Linked DNA regions of Homo sapiens: all the other regions are linked to region 1. Evidence: promoter capture Hi-C in human tissues and cell types (Jung and others, 2019). All regions are on one chromosome and are shown on one strand. The core of a region is centred on a gene start or on the middle of the fragment in contact, and the rest is flanking DNA. Distances in the headings are between cores, read along the strand shown. Region 1 holds the start of ANKS6 (ankyrin repeat and sterile alpha motif domain containing 6). Region 2 overlaps INVS (inversin). Region 3 overlaps LOC101928438 (a long non-coding RNA gene). Region 4 overlaps ERP44 (endoplasmic reticulum protein 44). Region 5 overlaps TEX10 (testis expressed 10). Region 6 overlaps STX17 (syntaxin 17).

Region 1 (4,105 bases), core at 1,417-3,916:
CGCCTGTAATCGCAGCACTTTGGGAGGCCGAGGTGGGCGTTTCACGAAATCAGGAGATTGAGACCAGCCTGGCCAACACAGTGAAACCCGGTCTCTACTAAAAATACAAAAAGTAGCTGGGCGTGGTGGCACGTGACTGTAATCCCAGCTACTCCGGAGGCTGAGACAGGAGAATCGCTTGAACCCAGGAGGCGGAGGTTGCAGTGAGTCGAGATCACGCCACTGCACTCCAGCCTGGTGACAGAGCGAGACTCCGTCTCAAAAAAAAAAAAAAAAAGAACAGGAAAAAACACTAAGGTCACCATTTCTAATACTAAAACACCCACAAAAGACCAAAGGCACAGGGTGTCTAATAGTCTGGCCTGATCCACACAGAGAGCTGGGACGATAAATAGATGCTTGCTCAGACCCAGCGTGGTGGCTGCCAGGGGTGTGGTTTTGAGCAGGATTCTGGGGGCGTATCCAGATCCAAGGAAGAAGAGCACAAGGCTGGAAGGTGTCAGCACACAGGCCATTCATTTGCCTACCCCGATGTGAGGGACAGACACACTGTACATCCTTCTGGAAGTCTTCCATATATACTACTCCTCAACTTGACCTTTTCTTATGAATTACGCAGCAGAAAGCTGGAGCACAACTCAACACAGGCAGAGATGCTACCTGAATATAGAGTCGGTGTCACACCAACTGAGGAACAGCACATTTTAAAATACCCAGGCTCAAGACTATCCTGCAGAACTTGGTTAAAACTGATGATCTGGGGTCTCTGAGACACTCTGAGGCATGTCAGTGCTGTAGTCACAAACCTCACTCAGTAAATTCCTCAGGGGGCTCACCAGGGCCCCTGTGCACGCACTTGGTGGATTGCAGAGATGAGACACACATAACACATCAGTGGCTCCCAAACCTACCATACAAGAGAATCACTGGGGAGCCTCTTCTCACACAGAGTCCCTGTCTCTTACTCCCCTCACTGCCCTGGGCCTTCTAAATCACAATCTCCAGAAAAGGAACTCAGGAATCTGCACTTAGACAAGCATCCTGGTGATTCTGATGTGTGGCCAGGTTTGGGTACTGAGGAAGCCAGTCAGCATTAACATGGTGTGATGGATGCTACCACAGAGGCCTTTCTGCTGCGGAGGGACCAGAGAACAGGGAGATATCATGGCAGGCTTCACAGAAGCCAGATCTCTAGATGCCATCCTTGCTGTCTCTCTTAACCCCTCCCCAAGGGCCAGTCGTCAACTCCTGCTGATCTACTCCCTGAATATATCACAAATTCATCTGGGTGCCCTCCCTCCGCTGTCTCCATTCTGGTCTAGGCCACCATCACCTCTCACTCAGACTGCAGCAAACTCTACCTAACCAGCCTTTTTGACTCTAGCTTACCCTAGAGTATCTAATCTATTCTCACACTTCAAGGAAAGTAATTTTTCCAAAACGTAACTCTCATCCTGTCACTCATTCTGCCTAGAACCTTCCATGACTCCCTAGCACCTTCCATGACTCCCTAGCACCCTAGGATAGCTAGCGTTTCTCAGCTCCCACACTCCCCCAACTCCCTGGCATCTGCCTTCTCTCCAGGGAGGACTAGTACATCATTCTACTCATACATTCTACGCATACCTCATTCTACCAGTCCTACCAGCTCGTGCACCCAAGCCTTTGCATGGGCCTCCCATCATGCCTTCCCACAGCCCACTTGTAATGTCCTGGCTAATTCTCAGGTATCCGCAGGTCTCCACGTGGATATAAACATCTTTTCTACCAGAAACCTTCCCCCACGTCTCCAAAATGGGTCACCTGCCCCACAGCTACTCAAACCTTTCCGGTCAAGCTCGTTCCTTTGCCTGGCCTGCCCACCAATGCCCTGGGTGGGGACTCTGCCTGGGTCTCGCAGCACCCTCAACGCCAAGCCAGGAAGGGAAGGCAGGTTCTGAGGAAACTCTTACTGCAATAAGAAATGAATTAAATCTCTAAGGTTCTAAGTCTCTACAATTCTATTCGCTGTCTCCAGATTCTATTCTGAAAGGCCAAAATTTCTAAGAATCTGATTTTATGTTAATTCAAAAGTGTTTCCACGTCTATGCTCAAAGTTTACAAAAGACTACTCAAAGTTTACCATTCCAACTCTAAGGAGTCCTTAACTCTTCACCTCCCGGGGCATCCGGCCGCCGGGGACCGCGTCTCGGGCCAGCGCCGGGCACCACTCTGGTCCCGGGCCCCCGGGCCCCGCCGCCTCACCTGGCCGCCTGCATGAGCGCGCTCCAGCCGTAGTGGTTGCGGCTGTTGACCGAGGCACCGCGGCGCAGCAGGAAGCGCACCAGCGGTTCGTGGCCCCCGGCCGCGGCGAACTGCAGTGCGGTGTTGCCCGCCTCGTCCGAGCAATCCACGGGCACCGGAGCCCCGACTGCCCCCGCCGCTGCGGCCCCGGGCCCGGCCACCTCGGCCCCCGCCGGCTCCGCGCCCGCCTCCGGCTCCGCGCCGCGCTCGGCTGGCTCCGCCGCCCCCGGCTCCAGCAGCCGCCGCGCCGTCTCCGTGTCGCCCTGGTCACACGCGCGCAGCAGCAGCTGGAAGGCCGGGGGCAGCCCGCCCTCGCCCATCGCCGCCGCCACGCGCGGCCCGCTCCCGTCCGCCCCGCCGGCCGCGTCGGCTCCGCCCCCGGATACCGCCCGCAGGCGCCCCCTTCCGGCCACCCGCCCGCGCCGCGCGCCTACTGTGTGCCGGGAGCGCGCCGGGGCTAGGGCCGCGCGCCTGCTGTGTGCCGGGAGCGCGCTAGGGCCGGGGCTGCGCACCTCCAGTGCCCGTATTCGGGAGTCCAGGGACGCTCAGAGGAGCGCCCGCCGCAGACCCGCGTGTTCCCTTTTGCCTCTTCGGCGCCCTCTCGCCGCCCTGTCCCGGGGCTCCAGAAACTTCCTGTCAGGGCAGAGGTGGGAGCGGCCACGCCATCCCCTCTTCACGCTGTGGTCAGGGCCCTGGGCCCGGGTCTGAGTCCGCAGCTGCGTGGGCCTTGACTTTACTAGCGGGCTCCGCTGACCCCACCGCAGCCCCTGGCACTGAACCTGCCCTTCTAGAATAAGGAAGCGGCTGAATTAAGGAACGAACGGATTGTTTCCTCACAGTGTCCTGCGGTGCCCTTAATGTCGCTCCTTCATCTGGGCCAGGCTGCTGGGGCTAAAAGCGCCTCCTGTTCTCTCTCTCTCCCCCACCTTTTATTTCAACTATTATTATAGATTAAAGGGTACAGGTTTGTTACATGGGTAAATTGTTACATGGGTAAATTGCGCGACGCTGAAGCTTGTGGTCCCAACGATCCCGTCACCCAGGCAGTAAGCATAATACCCACCAAGAGGTTCTTCAGCCCAGAGTCCCCTCCATCCCTCCCTGGCCTAGCGATCCCCAGCGTTTGTTGTTCCCATCTTTGTGTCCATGTGTACTCAATGTTTAGCTCCCACTTATAAGTGAGAACATGCAGTATTTGGTTTTCTGTTCTTTTTAGGTCGCTTAGGATAATGGCCTCCAGCTTTATCCATGTTGCTGCAAAGGGCATGATTTCGTTCATTCTTATGGCTGCATAGTATTCCGTAGTATTCCATCATATTCTATCGTGTATATGCACCACATTTCTTTCATTCCTTCCCTCTCTTCCCTCCCTCCCTCCCTATCCCCCTTCCTTCCTCCCTCCCTCCCTCCCTTTCTCCCTCTCTCTCTCTCTCTCTCTCTCTCTTTTGACAGGGTCTTGCTCTGTCATCCAGGCTGGAGTGCAATGGTGCAATCTCTACTCACCACAACCTCTGCCTCCCAGGCTCAAGCAATCCTCCCACCTCAGCCTACCGAGTAGCTAGGACTGCAGGCAAGTGCCACCACACCCGGCTAATTTTTTGTATTTTTGGTTGAGAAAGGGTTTTACCATGTTGTCCGGCTGGTCTCAAAGTCCTGAGCTCAAGTGATTCACCTGCTGTGGCCTCCCAAAGTGCCAGGATTACAGGTGTGAGCCATCACATCTGGCTCTGTACCACATGTTCTTTATCCAATCTACTGTTGATGGGCACTTAGGTTGATTCCATACCCTTGCTATTGTAAATGGCACTGCAATGAATATACA
Region 2 (4,285 bases), core at 1,532-4,031, 1.4 Mb after region 1:
GCCGGCCATGGCAACGTGCACCTGTAATCCCAGCTTCTCAGGAGGTTAAGTCCAGGAGTTTGAGGCTGTAGTGAGCTATGATTGTGCCACTACCCTCTAGCCTGGACAACAGAGTGAGACCGTGTCTCTAAAAAAAACAGAAATAAAAAACCAAAAAGGTTAAGAATATAAAAACTTTCTAAAGACATATAAGAAACTAATAAAATAATTTATCCAGAGTGAGGGTAGAGGAAGGAATGATGCAGACTAGAGCAGAAGTAGGAGAAAGCTTTTATTATGTACCTCTTTATATTATTTTTTGAACCATCTGAATGCATTTTATGCAAAAATTTTAAGGTAAAAGTAAATTATTTTAAAAATGATGGCAGCAAAAAGGTTAATAGAAATAGACATGTTTGAGCAAGACTGGGAAATGGCAGAAAATTCCAAGGGAAAGAGATAGACATAAGGTAACTTCAAGTTTACAAAGGATATAATGCCATAGGCAACAAGCACCAGACAAATTACTCTAGTGCAAAGAAAAGTAATTAAACTGTGCAGCAACATTTAAACAGCTGAAGCATAAGTAAAATATTAGCACAGGAGAAGAGGCAGTAGAAGAATTAGATTTTATGTTTAACACATTAAAATGAAAAGATTTTAATTAAAGCTGTTATTTAAAGCTACAAAAACATTTTAAATGAAGAATATATATTGTAAATCACATCCATTCTTTATATATTCTCGACCTCTACTTCAGTCTTTCTATAAAACCAACACATGTACATTCCATCCATGTCAAGAAAAGTCATTTTTTATCTTAGTGACTTACATGGTGCAACATATGTATGAAAACAACTTTAGATCTGGGATTTGACTGTGTTATGTAAATGAACTAATATTGTTAAAGTGACAGTAGAACTCCCATAATCTTGTCTGAAGGTAACAGACTGCCATGTATCAAATATTGTCATTGTTTTTCTTCAACTCTTTTTGTTATATAGGTAAGACATGTTCACTGTAGCAAAAAAAAAAAAAATGGGTTTTGTGCCATTACTCATACCTTTTGCTTTAGTTAGTTAAACATTTTCAGTGGATACTACTAGGCATCTCTGTGGCTGTATCCACTCATTAGTCCATTTTAAAACAATTTAATAAGTGCCCATTCTACCACAAGCTATGTAGCGAATGGGTATCTGAAGAGTAAGCAAGTAGTGATAGTTTATGAGTTTTTGACTGTTGGTATGCTTCCAAAAGAAGGCACCAAAAGACATTTGTGATGCCCACATTACTTAGAAATGTAGGGAAATCTTAGTATTTGAAACTCTTATGTCCTAGAATCTTAAGAAACCTCTGGATTGAGATGGTGATGTTAGGCAGCTCTTGCAGTTGACTTCAATGCTAGCTAGGCTACTTTCTCCAAGCAGTGAGAAAGTCCTAAAGAGTCTTGCTTCATTTTATTCCAACTTCTGGAGTTTTTAAACCAGCATTGTTTGTGTTCTTCCATATGTAGAAACTATCTCTAAACCTATCCTCTCATTTTCCAGTTTAGAAGGTGCTTTCAGATATTTAGGATCTTATTAGTTACTTTCAAATTAGTATTCCAATCAAAACGAGTTGAAATAAAAACCTGTCTGTCCTTTAACACTTTGATTATAGTTTATGTACTTCTATTTACATGGGTAAAATGTATAGTCACTAGGAATAACATGTCAACACATCTTGATTGAAATCGCCACTTTGAATTTTTCTATCATGTTTCTAGTATGAAAAAAAACTTCATTTAGCTTCATAGTAGCTTCATAGCAGTTGGAATAGTTGTATATTATGTGTTTTCTGTATACATAAACTGAACTATAATTTGAAAAAGTTCTTCAAGGTCACCTTGTCACTTGCAGAGTGACAAATTATCCTGATTTGCTGATTCTCATCTTAGTGTTCCTGATACTGCTGCACTGGGAGAAAATTTACATACTTTCCTAAAGCTTACTTTCTCAGACTTCTTGTTCTTCTGGCCTTGAGTAATTCCCAGATCCAGTTTTCCTGTCAAACCTCCAAAGAAGTACTGAAGGGTTTCTTTCTCATAGGTCAGATTCAGGATTTGAACCCAAAGCTTCTTTCTTTAAATACACTGTTTTTTCTTTATCATACCTCTCAAACATAGTAGAGCAGCCTTGAAGATTTTGTTTTAAAATCTACATGGCTGTGGAATTTTGTTTTAAATATGATTATGTTTCCTACAATCATCTTCATTTTCTAATCATCTTCATCTCTTCTCTGACTCCCATTTTTACCAAGTCATGAAAATACAAGCATCTGCTTTCCATGAATAGATCAGAGATCTCACAAGCCTAGATTCCCATGGAAACCAATCAAAAACTAAAAGGAAAAGAAAGAGTATATATTGAATTTCGATGAAACCTACAGCTTGTTTTTCATTAGACTCATGCTGGTTTCTTTTAAACTCTGGGCACAGGGCCAGCAAATATTTTTATGGCTGGTAAAAAGGGACTTCAAATCCATTTACTTTCATTTAACCGTTTAAAAATTAATTTTGTATATAACATCAATTCTAAAGAAAATTTGAGCATTAATTTTCTAATTACCTTATGTCATAGGGCCATTATTTGTTTATGTAATTTCCTCTTCTTGTTTTTTCTCCTACCCATAGTTTATGACTCATAAAAGGATGAGAGGGAATCAGGATGATTATTATTCCTATAGTGTGAATATTGTCAACACTTGGGCACGACATTTTTCCTATGACCAATCATAGGACCAATAAAGGAGGTCTCTTTGTACCTCCTTTAGCTGTTAAGCTTTCACAAGGTGCAAATGATCATTTACAAATGTGACAACAGATGATAACTAAAATGCCAAAGTGAGGGGGATTAAGAGAACCAGAGAGGGGATGGCTGGGGAGGACAGGTTGTAATTTTAAATTAAGCAATCAAAATAGTATTCAGTGAGACAGGTTGTAATTTTAAATTAAGCAATCAAAATAGTATTCAGTGAGATGGTGACATGTGAAGCAAGACTTAAAGGAGGTGAGAACTTTAGCCATGTGAACACCTGAGGGAAGAGCATTCATTCCAGGCAGAAGAAACAGTCAGAACAAAGGCCTTCAGATGGGAGCATGCCTAGAATTTTTGCAAAATAACAAGAAAATTAGTATAAATTAGTCTTCATGCCTTTAATCCCAGCACTTTGGGAGACCAAGGCGGGAGGGTCACTTGAGCCCAAGAGTTTGAGACCAGCCTGGTCAACATAGGGAGACTCCATCTCTACAAAAAAATTTTTAAAAATTCGCCAGGCATGGTGGTGCATGCCTGTGGTCCTAGCCACTCAGGAGGCTGAGATGGGAGTATCACTTGAGTCCAGGAGGTTGAGGCTGCAGTAAGCCATAATCACACCACTGCATTCCAGCCTGGACAACAGAGTGAGACCCTGTCTAAAAAAATAATAATAAATATATATATACCTTATAATGAATGAGCAAAAGGAAAGCGCTAAGAGATGAAGAAAGAGAAAGAATGGTGGCCTGATCCTGTAGGGCCTTATAGGCCATTGTCAAGAATATGTTTTCACTCTGAATGAGATGAGGAGGGTTTGAGGAAAGACGTGACATGGTCTGACTTATGTATTTATAAAAGAATCATTCTGGCCAAGTGAAGACATTTTCCTCCAGTTTTAGTACTATCTATTCCTTCACCCATTCCTCATATAATATGCTTTCAAGTTTCCTTCTCATCCTGATCATTTTCACCAGATATGCACATATTTGTCTAAATTCCCTTGAAAATGTGATACCTACAACAGAATACAATGCCAGTCTGATGAGCTCAGAGTGTTACATGACTATAACTGTTGACATTTTAGCAACAAAATACAGCTGATTCATATTTAAGATTTTTCAAATAAAAACTCTAAATCTGCTTTATACTTACAACTGCCTAAACTACGTCCTATATTAATATGGCCGTGGTTGTTGGACCCAAAGGCAGCATCTTATTGTATCCATATTTTGAACTTTCCCAGACATACTTAGGTAAAATTGACCATTGTATCCTTTGTTCCTCCAGTACCTTGTGTACTCAACCACTGTTATACCACCTTTTACACTGAAATATATTTATTTGTTTACATGTTTTATTTCTCCACAGATGATGAACATCTTAATATGTAAGAGTGTCTTAGTCATCTTATTTCCAATATCTAGTAGTACTTAACGACACTCAATCAATGCTTGCTGAATTGAATTGGGTTCATCATGTAACCTACCCAGGTCCTCTTGATTCTTGAGTCG
Region 3 (4,117 bases), core at 178-2,677, 1.0 Mb after region 1:
CCTTATCATCTATTTTACTTCCCTCCAGATATCCTCTATTATCACATCAATTTAGTAGCGAGATCATCTAATTGGTTTATTGGCCCCATTTACATTAACAAATCAGTTTTAACCAGTTTACTTTCAATAATATTTGTGAACTCCTTAACATAATCATATATTATTTCTCTAAACTAACCTTAATTATTCCATACTGAATTCTTCTCAGCCAAGAATGAACCATTAATAACTCTTCTTCCTATTTCTGGTTTTCCCCAACAGGTAGATTCTGATCTACTGCCAGACCTAGTTCTTCTTTCCTGAAATAAAGTATATTTATGAAGTACAATAATAAATTAAGGCTATCAGCTCCACAAGTTATGCACAAAAATTAATTTCGTAACTCTATAATCTCACTTCATCCACACACGAGTTTATATTTTCTATGGAATTTTTCCATTACTATTTCATAAGAAAGGCCACCAAACATACTCCAAGTTATGGAATGGCTGGTCAACTGCAAGCTTCAATTTTTTTCCTTCAGGGCAAGGAAGTTTGACATTAAAAATAAGGAAATGGCATATTGATAATGCAGTCTGATATAAGAATTTATTTTCTTATGCCTTTTAACCATTGAATTTGAATGGCATTCCAGTCTTAACTTAGATCTAACAGAGTATTATAAAAATATTATTCTCTGAAATTTTGCCTCTTCAGAAATCTTTAAACAAATGTAAAATAATCTTTCCCAAACAGAAGTTGAAACAGTAAAAACTTCAATGGACTTTGAGATTTGCAAATGTAACAATCACTTACAATCATTATCACTAACGATTTATATCCTTAAGATGAAACATCCTTCAAGAATGCATTAGGTGCACCAGGTGCAGTGGCTAATGCCTGTAATCCCAACACTTTGAGAGGCCAAGGTAGGAGAATCCCTTGAGCCCAGTTCACGACCAGCCTGGGCAACACAGGGAGACCTCATCTCTACAAAAAATGAATAAAATTAGCCTGGTGTGGTGGTGCACACCTGTAGTCCCAGCTACTCAGGAGGCTGAAGTGGGAGGACTGCTTGAGCCCAGGAGGTCAAGGCTGCAGTGAACCGAAACTGCACCATGGCACTCCAACCTGGGCAATAGAGTGAGGCCTTGCCTCAAAAAAAAAAAAAAAAAAAAAAAAAAAAAGCATTAGGTGCTCCTCCTGAGTCACTAAAGTATGGGTGATGTTATTTTAATATACTTAACTTCACTGCCTTTCCATAGGTAGCAATTAAATCATTCCCAAGATGCAAGTTAAACATTTGGTTCTCAGGATCACCAGTAAAAATTTCAAATCAAAACTTAGGAAATCCACAGCCACTATTTTGTACAAACATAGATTAATACTACTCTATGGCATAACCCACAACTTTAAATATTTATCCCCCTGTGAATGGGATTATAAAGGTACCTACTATATCATCTCAGACCCAATAAGAAGTTTAGCAACAAATGTCTCCTAATTTTCATGATCTCCATGTGGCCTATATAAAAGTAAACTGTGAACCTCTTCCAACAACAGTAGCCTCTACATTTTTTAACCAATTTCACATGAGACTGACAAGATACTAGTTATCCTGAGAAATGTGTTAAGTTTCCTGACAAATAAAGCCTGAACTAAGATCTCCCTTAAGTAGTCTAACTCTACAACCTCAGAATTCTTAAGAAACAAAAAATATCCTAAGAAGTTATCCATTCCCCTCATCCATCTTAGCAACCAAGTGGAGAATCTGGCCCCTCGCCACTAGAGGGGGGTGTTTCTTTTATTGGTTTCTCTTTCCCCCTAATTCGGCTGACCAGAATTTCTGGTTGAACTAGAAATAAGCCTCAAGATCAACATCCTGACCTTTATTTTTAATATCGTGTGGCCTTTTTTCTTTTTTTCAGGCCTAGTTAACACTAAAATATAAATTTCAATCCCTAATTACTTGTACTATTATGCCCCACATCATACTCCGTTGCCTTTCTACAAAGAGACTAACAAACTACACAATTTAGAGACTTTGACATTAGTTCACTGAAAATAAACAGAAAATCCAACCAAGTTTGAGTGTTTTTTTAAAAAAACCTTCTCATTTGCCAGGTTCATTATTTCATTTGAATCACTATAATACTATTTTAAAAATTAGACAGACAATAGCAACAAACTTTAAGGAAAAAATATACTTAAGAGACTTGCCCAAAATTTCAGGTAGCAAATGGCTAGGCCATAATGAAGACTCAAATGCTCTGACTCCTAGACCATTTCCAGTTCTATTATTCTATGCCATGAGTGAAAGGTACTAGATGAGAAGACCAAGGGGTGAACTACTCTTACTTTTTACTCTACCAGTCTAGAGCAAATAGATGTATGATTACTCATGTAACTCACTATTGCTCCTGGCAAATAACATATACCCATCTGCTTAGAATAGTCTCCACTGGCCACAAAATCAAGTCACAAGATGAGGAAGGAGTGGATGAAGGAGATAAGGGGAAAGAGTTGCAGAAGAGAAGAAAATAAATCTATCAAACAATCTTGAGGTCAGGCATGAGACACAAAATATACAAAAGTGAGGACCAAGATCTAAGCAAGAAATCAGAATCAGAATCAGAAAAAGAAGGAATGAACAACAAATGGTAGCAGTCACACCACCAGATATTCAAACAACCCAAAAGACTCTGGAAGAGACAATGAGTGCTGTTTGATTCCTTGCTGCTTCCTATGAAGATCCCTGGTCTAAGGCAGAGCCCCTTAGAAAAGATAGAGACAAGACCTGGCCAGTTAGAATCTGCATCCACTTTATGAAGGCAGAAGACATGGGGAGGGAAGAGCCCCAGCAAAAAGAAACCTATCCAAATAATATCAAATCCACCTGACGTGAATCTGCTTGGGACAAAGTAGGTATCACATCAGGATGTTTCTGGCTGCAAATGACAAATTCGCAGATCATGCCTACTTACACAATGAGGAACTGTATTATCTCACAGAACTGGAAGTTCAGAGGTAAGGCAGACCAAGTACAATACAATCAGCAATTCAGGAAGGTCATCAAGGGCTCAGGTTTCTTCCATCTGTTCTGTCATCATCTAGATCAGCTGCACCCCCCAAAGCTAGTTTCCCTCATGGTCCCAAGATGGATAGAGCAGTTCTAGCCACTATACTCAAACATAAAATCACAGGGAGATGAGGCATCATCTCTTTCTTTTCTCTCTGTTTAGAATCAATAAATCCTTTCCCAGAAGCACTCAAGCCGTCTGTAGACTTTTCCTTCATCTCTCATTGGCCAGAATAGGTTACAGGCCATTCCTAACTCTTCACCGGCAAGGGAAATGGGATTAACCATGACTGCTTAGACAAATCACCTGCGGTGGGATGAATACTGGGGAGTCAATCACCATGACCATACCATGGGCAATTTATACTGATGAGTATTATTATGACATTGTTTTCACTCCATAACAAATCTATAATGTGATTATGCTGCTTCAATGATCTTAACTACAAGGCATGTGCTTTGCCTGAAATCCAGATAATTACTCTTTGCTCACATCCCATATTTTTCAACATGAACTTATTTATCAGATAGAAAACATTTTATTAAAACTTTCCCAGTCAGGCCAGGCATGGTGGCTCACACCTATAACCCCAGCACTTTGGGAGGCCAAGGTAGGAGGATCCCTTGAGCCCAGGAGTTTGAGACCAGCCTGGACAACATAGGGAAACCCCTGTCTCTACAATTAAAAAAAATTAGCCCGGTGTGGTGGCATATACCTGTAGTCCCAGCTACCTGAAGCCAGTAGGATCGCTTGAGCCGGGAGGTCAAGGATGCAATGAGCCATGGTCTTGCCACTGCTCTCCAGCCTGAACAACAGATCAAGACTTTGTCTCAAAGAAAAACAAACAAACAAAAACTTTCTTGGTCAATCCACTGTAAAAAAAAAAAAACAAAAAACAATAACTTTAATGTAACATCTTAGAAGCAAGAGTAGTAACTCATTTGTCTCCCACAGCAACTACAGTGGATACAGCCACCTAGAACCCAACCTTGAGAAAGACTTAAAGCTGAGTCTGGATCTAGTGAGAAATAGTGCCATGACTGATTAGTGAGTCTATC
Region 4 (4,229 bases), core at 34-2,533, 1.3 Mb after region 1:
CTAAGTAGTGTGATGAAGTCTCATACCATCTTGCTTCAAATTAGGTGGGATGTGAATCATCCTTTTGTCCAGCATATTCCCACTGCAGACATAACCCGCCCCTTATCAACTGTAGTGGTACTGGAATCACAATACTTGTGTTCAAAAACCCATACTTTACTTAATAATGGCTCCAAAGCACAAGAGTAGTGATGCTGGCAATTAAGATATGCCAAAGAGAGGCCAGGCGTGGTGGCTCATGCCTGTTAATCCCAGCACTTTGGAGGGCCAAGGCAGGCGGATCACCTTAGGTCAGGAGTTCGAGACCAGCCAAGCCAGCATGGCAAAACCCCAAATCTACTAAAAATACAAAAATTAGCTGGGTGTAGTGGCGAGTGCCTGTAATCCCAGCTACTCAGGAGGCTGAGGCAGAAGAATCGCTTGAACCCAGGAGGCAGAGGTTGCAGTGAACCAATATCACGCCACCGCACTCCAGCCTGGGTGACAGAGTGAGACTCCATCTCAAAAAAAAAAAAAAAAAAAAAAAGATATGCCAAAGAGAAGCCATAAAGCGCTTCCTTAAGTGAAAAGATGAAAGCTCTTGACTTTAAATGGAAAGAAAATAAATCATACGCTGAGGTGGCTAAGATCTAGATTAAGAATAAATCTTCTATAAAGAAACTGTGAACAGTATATTTTATTATTAGTTACTATTGTTGATCTCTTACTGTGCCTAATTTATAAAGGAAACTTTATCATAGGTATGTATGTATAAGAAAAAACATAGTATATATAGGGTTCGGTATAATCCACAATTTCAGGCAGACACTGAGCATCTTGGAACATTACCTCCTGTGGATAAGAGGGGACTACTGTAACTCTAAAGCAAAATTAGGGTCTCTGAAACTGTTCATTTCATTCAAAGGTTAAACTAACAAAGAACTAAGTATTTTACAACATTGTAATACTTTTGTTGTTAGCACACTACAAGACTTCCTGTGAGGAAATAATATCCACTCCTACAGTAAAAATTCCTGCTATTTAGAAAGTTTGAGGAATGAGTCCATTTGAGTAGCTGTTTTCTAAGAAATTATTTTGACTAGCAAAAAAAGAAAAAAAAAGTAGCTATTCTTTATTCTCAGCCCTTTCAGAGGTAAAATCATTACAGAAGTGTAAGCTTATCACTGGCTAGCTGACATTTTACTGTACTTGGGCCAGAACTCCAGTAATAAGTCAAAGGAACTGAGGATGTGCAGGTTTCTTCTCTCAAGGTAACGCCAAATGACAATACATTATCTTACACTTGCAGCTGTTCTATAAGCAAAGAGATAGACTTCAATGATGTGTTGGTAATTTTTAAAAGCTGGCATTTCCCCCTACATTATTTAAAACTTCAAATACAACAAAACAGGCCTGGCACAGTGGCTCACGGCTGTAATCCTAACACTTTGGGAGGCTGAGGTAGGTGGATCACCTGAGGTCAGGAGTTTGAGACCAGTCTGGCCAACATGGTGAAACCCCGTCTCTACTAAAAACACAAAAATTAGCCGGGCATGGTGGCAGGCACCTGTAATCCCAGCTACCTGGGAGGCTGAGGCAGGAGAATCACTAGAACCCAGGAGGTGGAGGCTGCAGTGAGCCGAGATCACGCCATTGCATTCCAGCCTGGGCAACGGAGTGAGACTCTGTTTCAAAAAAAAAAAAATATACAACAAAACAGCTAAAGAGCAGGCTTGTAAATATGAGTGCGTACTGTCTATAGGACAAGAAATTTTAACTCTAACATTTTATTTTGTAGATGCATTCATAATCTATATTCCTAATGACCTCTTTTTTATTTTTAAAAATTTATTTTTCCCAGAAGGATGTCAAACATGACCTAACAACCTTTTTCTAAAATTTCTTAAATCCATTCACCAAAGGTCCCACTACTAGACTATAATAAGGAAGAAATGGAAAAAGTACTGGTATTCTACTATTCAGCCTATGGTTTTCTTTAGCTCAAATACTACTACAATGTTTTTCTGAGATGGGTTTCTTCTGCTTTTTTGTTGCTTTTCTCTACTATATTAGCAATGTTCGTGTCTACAAATTCAGGTGACTTAAAATTAGAGTCCAATATAATGCTCAAAGTTCTACATAATGATGAAATCTCAGGTTTGTAGGAATTGCAGAGATGAATGTGGTGACCACAATATCACCAAGGATTCCCAAAGCAGTTAGAATTCGATTTCAGTCTTTGCAAGGACAGAACCAAGACCCACAGCATTACAGAAGGGACTTCTCCAAAGTGGCATTTTATTCCTCTCCCCTCTTGAATGGACTAATCTGAAGGCTAGTTAGAACCCACTAAAGATCATGATTTTTATTTTTGCTAAGTTGATAACAAACTGTTTTAATGAAGTTGGCCAAAGGGTTTGCCAGCTTCTTTAGGGCCAATTCTGACATTTGGCCACGTCAGCCAACCAGACAACAAGATTTCTTAAAAATAAAACAATAAAAAACAAGTATTCAATTGATAGAAAAGATTTACTATGTTATTGAGAGGCACTGCCCTTTTTCTTCATTCCATTCAGGACTGAAAATAAGTTGATCCATTTAACTATTCAAGGCAATATTCAAATTCATCTTTTTCCAAGACTACTCTGATTCCTCCACTGAGAAATAATTTGTTTCTTCCAAACATCCATGGCAGTATTTCTCGAACTTTTATGTGCATATGAATCATCTGGGTATAAGTTCTTAAAGTGCAGGTTCTGATTCAGTAGGTCTGAGGTGAGGTGATCTAAAAGGTCTCATATGATGCTGATGCCTGGGCTCACAATCACACTTCTGAGTAGCAGGATCTATAACCCACTTCTACAAACACCTTTGGCATCCATTACTTTCCTTTTGGTAGTCTAATTATTTATATATATATCTTCTCTCCTCATCTGAATTACTAATTTCTTGAAGGCATGATATGCATCTCAATGATCTTTTTCTCCTCCATAGTAGATTGCAAATAGACTTTCAAATGATAGGCAGAAAAGAAAAATAATAACAAAGATACAGATTAAGTTTCTGCAGCCTGGGCCATAGATGAGTTCCTCTCTATGGAATCAAAGTTAGGCTAAAAATCAATAAATGTTGCAAAAACTCAAACTGTTTTTAATCTTCTTGGTTAGAAGAAATAGAGTACAGCAAGAGTCAATATCAGATAAGCTGTGACAAAAGCATGCTAAGCATGCCCCATACACATGTGCAACATGCTGACAAGCTAGCAGATTTTTAAAGGAACTACCCAATCAAATAATAAGTCTATAATCAGTAGGAGCTAAAGGAATACCCTTTTGTAGTCTATCTTGAAAATAAGATAGACTACACAAAGAATCATTGAATCATCAAATCCATGTGCTTACGTTATAGACAAGAAAAACAAGTAATTTAACCAAGGTTATGATGGTTAAGTAAATGGAAGAGTCGGAACTTACATAGATGCCATGACATCTACTTTTGCATTACACTGCCTTTTGAATGGAGACTAATGAAGAGGCAAAAGAATAATACCTTCCACTGTTCATAAACTCTATCTTGTGAGTACATTCATTCTGAATTACTGGAAGAAGAGTAAGCCATTTTTTGAAAAGAAGACACATAACAAGAACCCATAATACAAACATGCACACAAGAAAACAAATTATCAATAAATATGAAAAAAATTCAACTTTGGTTGTAATCAAAGAAATGTAAATTTAAATTGTGATACCATTTTTGGTCTAGTAAATTGGCACAGATTACAAAAACACTCACTACTGATGAGAGTGTGAGGAAGTGGGCATAGTCACACACTGTTAGGAATACACATTGGTACAAATTTTCAGTAGGGCAATTTAGTACAACATATCAGAAATTCTAAATATAAGACACACCATATAACCCAAAAAATATAATTCTAGAAAAGTAACCTGAGAATGTATCTGAACATTTGCAGAGAACATCATTGTATGCATACCTTTTGTACATTTTTTATAACTGTGAAAAACTTGAAATAACCAGTAACCAAAATGTCTTAACAAATAATGAAGTAAGCTACAGTGCATTTAAAGGTTGAGCTTCTATAATGCTATTAAAAATCACAGTATACAGTTTAGAAAAAGTTTTCAATAACTGTAAGCAATTAAACATCTCCAAGGGTTTTTACAAATTTTAACCTATCAGACATATGACTGAATTCACATATGGCTGTATATTCCAGTGCTTCTCAACCC
Region 5 (3,824 bases), core at 1,299-3,798, 1.5 Mb after region 1:
TTAGAAGAATTTCCTTAAATCCAAGATTTTAAAATTCCCACTCTGGCTAGCTCTAATGAAGCTCAAAACAAAATACAAAGGTTGGTACTAATAGCCCATCCTCCTAACGGTAGATTTATTTTTCTTGCTAGACTTATAGCAATGTTAATAAAAGAAACCTCTCAAGAAATTTTATAATGCCATCTAAGTTTTCAAATTTGTAACTTAAAGGGGAAAGAACAAAAAACTAAAAATTTTCACTACAACACAAAGGGGATTCATGAAGGAACAAAGAAAAAGCTAGCTAGGCTGACACAAACTCTCTGAAACAGAATTTAAGGTATCTGTATAACCTAATTATCTTTAACTGTCTATTTTATTATTTGGTTGGGGGAGGAGGAACAGTAGGAAAATTAAGGTTGAAGAATAAAAAATAATTACCTCTTTCTTAGATGTTCTGCTTCCCCTTTCTCTATAGTGAGCAGAAAATAAAGAAGACTGTAGCAACAAGAAGCCAGAAATGGCAGTAGAGTCTCACTAACTACACAAGTATGATCCAGGAGCTTACAGATAACACCAAAAACACAGCCAGCCGTGCTGTCAGGAATTACAGTCAACCCAACCTAAGCAGAGAAAAACGAGATTAATCACCTCTTCATAACAGACCCGCTCCTCCACATAAAACCAAAACCTGTTAATTCACGATTAACTTTACATTATTTCTACTGAAAACCAATATATACCTAACATATGCCACCTGCCACACCTTAAGGTCCTGTTTTCCTTTGAGAATTTAATCCCTAAATTATATGACTTTGAAAACATGCAAACACAAGAAGTGCTATTAACCCAATCCACTGCCTCCCCTTCATGACAGAATCTTCTAAATGTTCTATAAAATGTCTACTGCTGGTTAGAAATAACTATTTAAAGGGATTATTTCATGCACTCAAAGAAAATCTGAATACCAACAATCATACTTAAAAATTTTTAAATTATTCAGGCTGGAAAACTTGCATGTGGCACCACTCATATGCCAGGTAATTAAATGTATAAATAGTTCATTTCAAAATTAGCCTTCCTCTGCACTTTGATTTAGTCATTCAGACATGAATAAACATACCTCTACTGGAGTCAGTAAAAGATATTACTATAGTTAACATTTGACTGTTTCACTGCCAGGAAACCCAGGAAGGGTCATTAGAGTTTGCTAATTCATCTAGAATGTACTGTATGCATTGTCATTAAGGTAGAGTCTAACTTGTAACTGTATATATACATGGTTTCAATCTCCTGGAGACTACTGTTGGGTAATGATTTTACAAAGTCTGCAAACTCTGATGTCTTAACCTCCTCCACAGGCTGTGTGAAAATAGTGGCCAAGACTGACTGGCATATTGATCTTTTACTAGAATAATGAATGTAGTCAACGGAGAGTCTAATTCTCTGGAGTGGAGGTAGGGAAAAAAAAGTGGGCATTGTTGATGGCACAGGGATAAGGACTGGAAGTTTGACAGCAGGGAGAAAGTACTAGGAATTCAAAGCAGTACTCTCTTCCAACTCAAGGGAAGTAACATTTTAAGAGAAAAAGGAGTCTGGATGTGCCTATATTTTATCCAAACAAGTGTGTTTCTCAAAGATATAATTTGGGAGCCCTGCTTTGTACTATAACACATTACAATAAAAAGCCAAAGATAAGAGTATAAACACTGGAGAAAGTTAAAAGCAACTACAGAGGTATATCTAATGTGAATTTAATACCAATGGAAATGAGACATCCAATATCAAATAACAGGTCAGTCTCAGGGTTGAGTCTACAGCTGCCAGTGACCACACCTTGTGCCGGGTTAGATGATGTGCCTACTTTGGACCCCAAACCTTCTAGGTGGAACCCAGACTTCAGTCTAGATGTTGAATTCTCAATACAATGAGGCCAAGCACACGTGAATTACAGAAGTTGGAAAGGATGTGAAGTTTAATTTTCAGGTCCCTTATTTCACTGATTTAGAAAAGTGAGGTCCTAAGAAGAGACTTTTCCCAAGGTCACTCAGAAGTAAATTAATAACAGCCAGGAAAAATACCAAGATTCCTCAGTTCTTGCCAATGCATCATGCTGCAAGAGACTATGATATCATTAATCTTAGAATTCCAGACATGCTCTTTCTGGGGCTGTGGAAAACTCTATTCTAACCAATGCATCCTGTGTTCATTCTTAAGAGAAAAAGTTTAAGGATACTTACCAAATGCTTACTGATGGCACTTTGCAAGATGTCAAAGTTCTGACTTCGGGCAGGAATAACCAATAAACTGTGAAAAACTGCCTGTCAGAAAAGGAGAAAACCACTAACCAAATCAGAACATTTTAGATCAGAAACAAGTTCAACAGATTCTTTTTTTTGAGACAGAGTTTCACTCTGTCGCCCAGGCTGGAGTGCAGTGATGCAGTCTCAGCTCACCGCAACCCCCGTGACCTGGCTCAAGCAATCCTCTGGCCTCAGCCTCCCCAGTAGCTGGGACTACAGGTGCACACCACCACGCCTGGCTAATTTTTGTATTCTTAGTAGAGATGGGGTTCCACCATTTTGCCCAGGCTTGTCTTAAACTCCTGGATTCAAGCAACCCACCTACCTCAAGACTCCCAAAGTGCTAAGATCACAGGTGTGAGCCACTGTGCCCAGCAATAGATTCTTTTAATACCTACTTGCTCTACATATTAATAGGAAACACATAACAAATTATTTTGAAGATGCAAATGTCAAAGATCAAACAAATAGACCTTATATATGGCCTAATTTTCCAAATAATTCATCTACTAATCATATGTTGAATATTGAGCTAGCCCCTATTAGATGCCATGCACAGGAATAAAAGAATGAGAAACCTTCTCTTCTTTCTCATACCCCTCAAGTGGCTTACAATCTACCAACATGGAGACCACACAGTAAGTCCTCTACTTAACAACTTCAGCAGGTTCTCGGAAACTATGACTTTAAGCAAAACAATGTATAATGCAATCATTTTTTCCCCCCAATCAACATTATTAAGAAACGTTTTTCAGCCAGGCCTGGTGGCTCATGACTGTAATTCTAGTACTTTGGGAGGCCAAGGTGGGAGGACTGCTCAAGCCCAGGAGTTTGAAACCAGCCTGGGCAACATAGTGGTACCTCATCTAGAAAAAAAAAAAAAGTTGGCCAGATGTGGTAGCACATGCTTGTGGTACCAGCTACTCAGGAGGTTGGGACAGGAGGATCGCCTGAGCCCAGGAGGTTGAGGCTGCACTGCAGTAAGCCATAATGGTGACACTGCACTGTAGCCTGGATGACAGAGTGAGACACTGTCTCCAAAAAATAAGTGTTATTCAAGGACCTGCCGTGTATGTCATTTCTGTTTCCTAAAGAACCTACTGAGGATATTAAGTGAGGGCATACTGTATTTCTATTGAGTGCTATGACAGAAAGATCTGAGTGATATGAACAAAGGGCTAACAAAAGCTTTTTTTTGCCCACCTGATAGAGAAATGTATCACAGAAAAATATTTATGACCCAGAAAATACAAATATCCTGTTCAATTTAATCATAACACTGCCTTCTCTAAAGGTAAAAAAGAAATCTGCACAAAAAGTAGAGAGTTAGAAGTAAAACCCCTAGTATTTTTAATTTCCTAAGTTCTCAGAAAAACAAGAAGAGTCAAGAACAGTACTAAGTCCTTCACAGATATCAGTCACAGCACAAACTCCAGAATCTGATACAGTATACTACCAAAAATGAAATATGTAAAAACATCACATGAAAAAACAAGAATGGTAGAAGGATGAATATCACTCTAGGAAGAGATCAGTCAGTTA
Region 6 (4,480 bases), core at 997-3,496, 1.2 Mb after region 1:
GTTTATTGTGGCAGTATTCACAATAGCAAAGACTTGGAACCAACCCAAATGTCCAACAATGATCGACTGGATTAGGAAAATGTGGCACATATACACCATGGAATACTATGCAGCCATAAAAAATGATGAGTTCATGTCCTTTGTAGGGACATGGATGAAATTGGAAATCATCATTCTCAGTAAACTATCGCAAGGACAAAAAACCAAACACTGCATGTTCTCACTCATAGGTGGGAATTGAACAATGAGAACACATGGACACAGGAAGGGGAACATCACACTTGGGACTGTTGTGGGGTAGGGGGAGGGGGGAGGGATAGCATTAGGAGATATACCTAAGCTAAATGATGAGTTAATGGGTGCAGCACACCAGCATGGCACATGTATACATATGTAACTAACCTGCACATTGTGCACATGTACCCTAGAACTTAAAGTATAATAACAATAAAATAAAAATAAGAATAAAAATAAAAAAAAAGAAATGTTACATCTGCCCATTTTTTCTTTTTTTATTTACTCAGGGCACTCCTGCATCACTATCTCCAAAGCCAGATTATTTTTAATTTTATATTTTCAGTGCTAATGATCCAGTAATTTACAGAGAGATTAAAAAAAGCTTTTGGAAGAAACATTTAGGCCACTAGTCAGAGTTTCTGGGTAATCTTGCTTTTGTTGTAGCCTTAGTACCTAGCACAATGCTTGGCACATAATGGACCTAAATGTTTTATAAACATAAATACATAAATATCTTTTTAGAGACAATTTTGTAATTTCACATGCACTGTAACCACCTCACTCTGTGGATAACCAGTACTGTAAATGTTTTTGAGAGAAGGAGATGCTAGCACTCAATCCTTGGTTGAAAAGTATTTGGGAAGAATGCTTTTTGATAGTTTGTAATTACCGTTTCATTATTCTGTTCATCTATAGTTATTGCTGCCATATTGGTGAGGTTGAAGGCCGTTTTTATCACTTAGTGCAAACTGATGCTTTATGTGCACATGTGGAGTAACTGAGTTTTATAGTTGCATGTGATTAAGGGCTCATCTTATGTACCCAGACATTGTGATAGTTGTGATGGTAATAATAACTGTGAAGATAACCTGGATTTTCTGGAAAGAGTAACTAACATCAATCTTTTTGCTACTTAGCTTTGAATTGCCTATCTCTAGCAATTCCCCTATCAAACAAAAATTTGGAGTTCATCTGAGAGTTTTCTCACAGTATTTTAATATCCTAATACTTGCTTTAATTTGCATTTTATTATTGCATTATTTGTTTTACTGCCAGTAGAACTGTTCGGGATCAACAACTTTGGGCTTATATGTCATCAGAGAAATTGGGTGATTATTATTAATAGAAAAAGGCAGTTTACCCAGTTTGCTGGCAATTAACTTTCTCCATAGGAAGCTGATTGGTATATAAAAAAAAACTTCGGCAGATTTTGAAGAAGTATGTGCATAAAGGAAATGAAAAAATTGGAGCAGAGCCAGAGAATGAGGGAGAAGAAATAGCAGGTGAAATTCACTTCCCAATTCTCTTGATTCTCAAACTTCTCAATTCACCAAATGGGCTATTAAAGACCTAATTACTAGGAGAAAACTAAAAAATTAAATCTCTATAACTAGTATTGATTTGGTTGAGACAGTCATTCTATTAATAAAATCAATACCTAGGTTATACCTAAAATAGTGTATAGAATTTCAAATTCAATAGTCTGCTTGTCATAGTGTGCTTTCACTATTAATCCACTGCCAACATAAAGCAATTAAAAAACTACTGTCTCACCAAGTGCCTGAGTATTTCGCCAAGTGTGAGAGTTTCTGCTATATTGCCTCAAGTCCAGAAATATTATTAATAAATAAGAGAATGGAAAAGGAAATGAATAATGAAAGGAAAGCAAGTAACTAATTTACATAAGACTTTAATAGTGGGGTAGGAATTGAGTTTGCTCCATATTTGGTCTTCTAGCTGTAGACTGTTTTTGTCATTCTACATGTTTTTATTCTATGCTCTCCAGTTTTTCCTTATTTTTGCTTTAGATACTTATTATAGTAGCAACAGCCTATATGGAAAATCTGTTTTATTGCATAGAAGTTAAGTGCCTTAAAATACTTTTTACTTTACAAATTCAATCTGATTCTAAATAAATTGGTTGGAAACATCAGCAGAGATTCAGAAGCAATGTTGCCACATTTCCATGAGTAAGATCAAAAATACAAAAATAGTTTTTCATTTACAGATAGAAATAACAAGTAGAATAGGATGTTTTATATTCTCTGGAGAATGAAAGAAGCTTATTAAGTTTAGGGAGAAGCTGTGATGATTTTGCTGTTTCTTTTGTCCAGATTCCGAGAGTTCCTAAAGCAAATCTTCTCTGCCAATCTTCTTGATCTGAGAAACTCCCTTCTGTCTCACTTGTGTGTCTGGTTTCATTTTTAGCATATTGCTTTCCACCAAGTGAAGTGAGGAGCCTCCAAATCTGATTTGTATTTAGAAAGGTGATTCAAGTCATACAGAGTGAATCAGTGCTTCTCTCCATTTTTGTCTTTCTTTACTCTCAGGACACACACTTCAGTAACACAAAAGGAACAGAATCTTATTACATTTTAAACAAATATTCACAAAAGAAAAGAATATAATCTTAAAACTGCTGGGAACTTCAGACCAGCGTATTGAATTTGATGAAATTTAGATTTTTATCACAGGTATATACATGTACTGAACAGTTTTATGAAACATGTAGATGGTTTGTATTATATGATTCAGAAGATGTATTTTCTATTGGTTTTAATTTTTTTTAAGTCTTCATTTGCAGCTAAGTTAAGCCATGCTTAGAAGTAATTTTATTTTGATAGGCTTATGTAGATGATCAGTAAATTAATTTCACTATTTTTAAACTATCAGAACTGGAAAACATTTCAGCAATGCTTTTGAATTAATTTAGATTTATAATAAAACTTTTTCTTATGTGGTAAAGGTTAGTGGAAATTTTTTATATACTATAATTCTTGGTAAAATCATTGCTGTTCATAAAGTATGGAGAAAGAGGGAGAGAGTACTTGGATATATATAAAAGGGAAAAGTCTTAGGTTATTTCGTTTATTTCTCACTTCAACTAAACCAACAATAAGGTTTTAAAACCAATCCTGGGGTTTAAAAAACAGTGGTGAGTGATAGGTCCTATGTTCTACTTGCCCTTTATGCTTCTGGTTTGTGTGTGGGTGGGAGTACCTGAGATGATTATGTTACATGAAACAGTTACAATTTTTTACTTCTGTAGGCAGATCTAAAGTTCTTCAGCTTTCTTTCCTGAAACTATAATCTATCTCAGCGTTTTGCCTTATCATGTCCATAGCAGTTCGTAAAAGTTCAAAGGATCGTCACTGAGGTAGTGATTTTAAATGCAAGCTGGAATAAATGAATTATGGAAGTTGTAGAAATGAAAAGATTTGCTTTAATTGATAGTCATGACTTGAATTGATTAGCGAGGTTTAGAGTTTTAAGTTTACATCAGGGTTTTTTATGGAAGAGCACAGACCTCTTTGTTCTAAGACTCTGTTTGAACTAAGATGCATACGTAGTTTGGTTTCAAGTGAGACGTAAATGACTTAAACATTTTTATTCTTTACTGAGGGAAATCTTTTATGTTTGTTTAAAATGTCAAACATTTCCCACACATTATTTTTTTAGATTAAGTATTAATATATAATAATCTGTCCTCATTTCATTGCATACCCTCGCAAACTTCATTTGAATCCTCTTTAATAGTACATAAATTATGGCTTTAAAAAATATTTTGAGTGGTCATGGTTATAAAGTTCTCCTTTATATTTGATCTGTTAATAATAATGAAGTTATCATTATTCATCATAATGTGAAAGAAGTGTAAATACCTGGAAATATTAAGTAGAAGAAAGGTCATAGAGTAATTCATTTTTCTTGGTTGATGTGAAAATGAGAGTGTCTTTATGGCAATAATGTAAAGCATAGAGTAACTATTTTAAGCATTTGTAAAAATCATTTAGAGCTTTTAAAATATTGGCTATTTGCCATACTGTTTTAATGTAAAACTTACTCTGTATCGCCTGCCTTTGCTCTTCCTTTAAGTTAAATAAATATATTCAGATAAGATTAAAAACATTCTCAGTTGTGATAAATCTACAAATTACTTTTTAGTCCATTGACTATGGCCTTCCTAAACAATTGAAACATTTTTCCTAGAGAGGTAAAGCATTCATAGGCTTTAAAGGTAAAATAGTAATGCAGTTTTATAAAATACTATTTCAGTTATAGGTTTGGCTGAAAGGGGCATTGAGAGAACATGAACTTAGAGTTATAATTGCTTACTTTTAGGAGTAGATCAGATGCCACATGTCATCATGGCATTTCTCTGCTTATAACCCTTCAACAGCTCTCTTTGGTGTGCCAGATAAAGTCCAAAGTCTTTAACTGGTCTGCAAGGCCCCTCCTGACC

The links. Contacts are between HindIII fragments. The study calls those that stand out against the background at their distance.
Region 2: a fragment that was not itself captured here is called in contact with the fragment with the promoter of ANKS6 in region 1 in 1 of the 25 tissues and cell types used here (mesenchymal stem cells).
Region 3: a contact is called between a fragment that was not itself captured here and the fragment with the promoter of ANKS6 in region 1, in 1 of the 25 tissues and cell types used here (dorsolateral prefrontal cortex).
Region 4: a contact is called between a fragment that was not itself captured here and the fragment with the promoter of ANKS6 in region 1, in 1 of the 25 tissues and cell types used here (dorsolateral prefrontal cortex).
Region 5: a contact is called between a fragment that was not itself captured here and the fragment with the promoter of ANKS6 in region 1, in 1 of the 25 tissues and cell types used here (spleen).
Region 6: a fragment that was not itself captured here is called in contact with the fragment with the promoter of ANKS6 in region 1 in 1 of the 25 tissues and cell types used here (spleen).

The regions. Positions count from the first base shown.
Region 1 is chr9:98,793,889-98,797,993 of GRCh38, forward strand. It overlaps ANKS6 (ankyrin repeat and sterile alpha motif domain containing 6), which reads right to left and starts at 2,667. Exons shown (of 15, transcript NM_173551.5): 1 at 2,245-2,667. The coding sequence starts at 2,603. RefSeq lists enhancers at 1,930-2,430, 2,431-2,931 and a silencer at 2,190-2,809. The HindIII fragment of the contact is 18,100 bases long and covers 1-4,105 here.
Region 2 is chr9:100,148,046-100,152,330 of GRCh38, forward strand. The region is part of intron 3 of INVS (inversin); the gene reads left to right. Among named protein-coding and RNA genes, the nearest start is that of INVS, 51 kb to the left of the region's middle. The HindIII fragment of the contact is 3,331 bases long and covers 1,117-4,285 here.
Region 3 is chr9:99,805,693-99,809,809 of GRCh38, forward strand. LOC101928438 (a long non-coding RNA gene) reads right to left here. Exons shown (of 7, transcript NR_109802.1): 2 at 179-299. Among named protein-coding and RNA genes, the nearest start is that of NR4A3, 14 kb to the right of the region's middle. The HindIII fragment of the contact is 4,940 bases long and covers 1-3,897 here.
Region 4 is chr9:100,089,078-100,093,306 of GRCh38, forward strand. The region is part of intron 1 of ERP44 (endoplasmic reticulum protein 44); the gene reads right to left. Among named protein-coding and RNA genes, the nearest start is that of ERP44, 7.8 kb to the right of the region's middle. The HindIII fragment of the contact is 3,296 bases long and covers 1-2,931 here.
Region 5 is chr9:100,308,080-100,311,903 of GRCh38, forward strand. TEX10 (testis expressed 10) reads right to left here. Exons shown (of 15, transcript NM_017746.4): 12 at 2,220-2,300; 13 at 421-602. Among named protein-coding and RNA genes, the nearest start is that of TEX10, 43 kb to the right of the region's middle. The HindIII fragment of the contact is 6,335 bases long and covers 1-3,824 here.
Region 6 is chr9:99,952,585-99,957,064 of GRCh38, forward strand. The region is part of intron 4 of STX17 (syntaxin 17); the gene reads left to right. Among named protein-coding and RNA genes, the nearest start is that of STX17, 48 kb to the left of the region's middle. The HindIII fragment of the contact is 4,483 bases long and covers 6-4,480 here.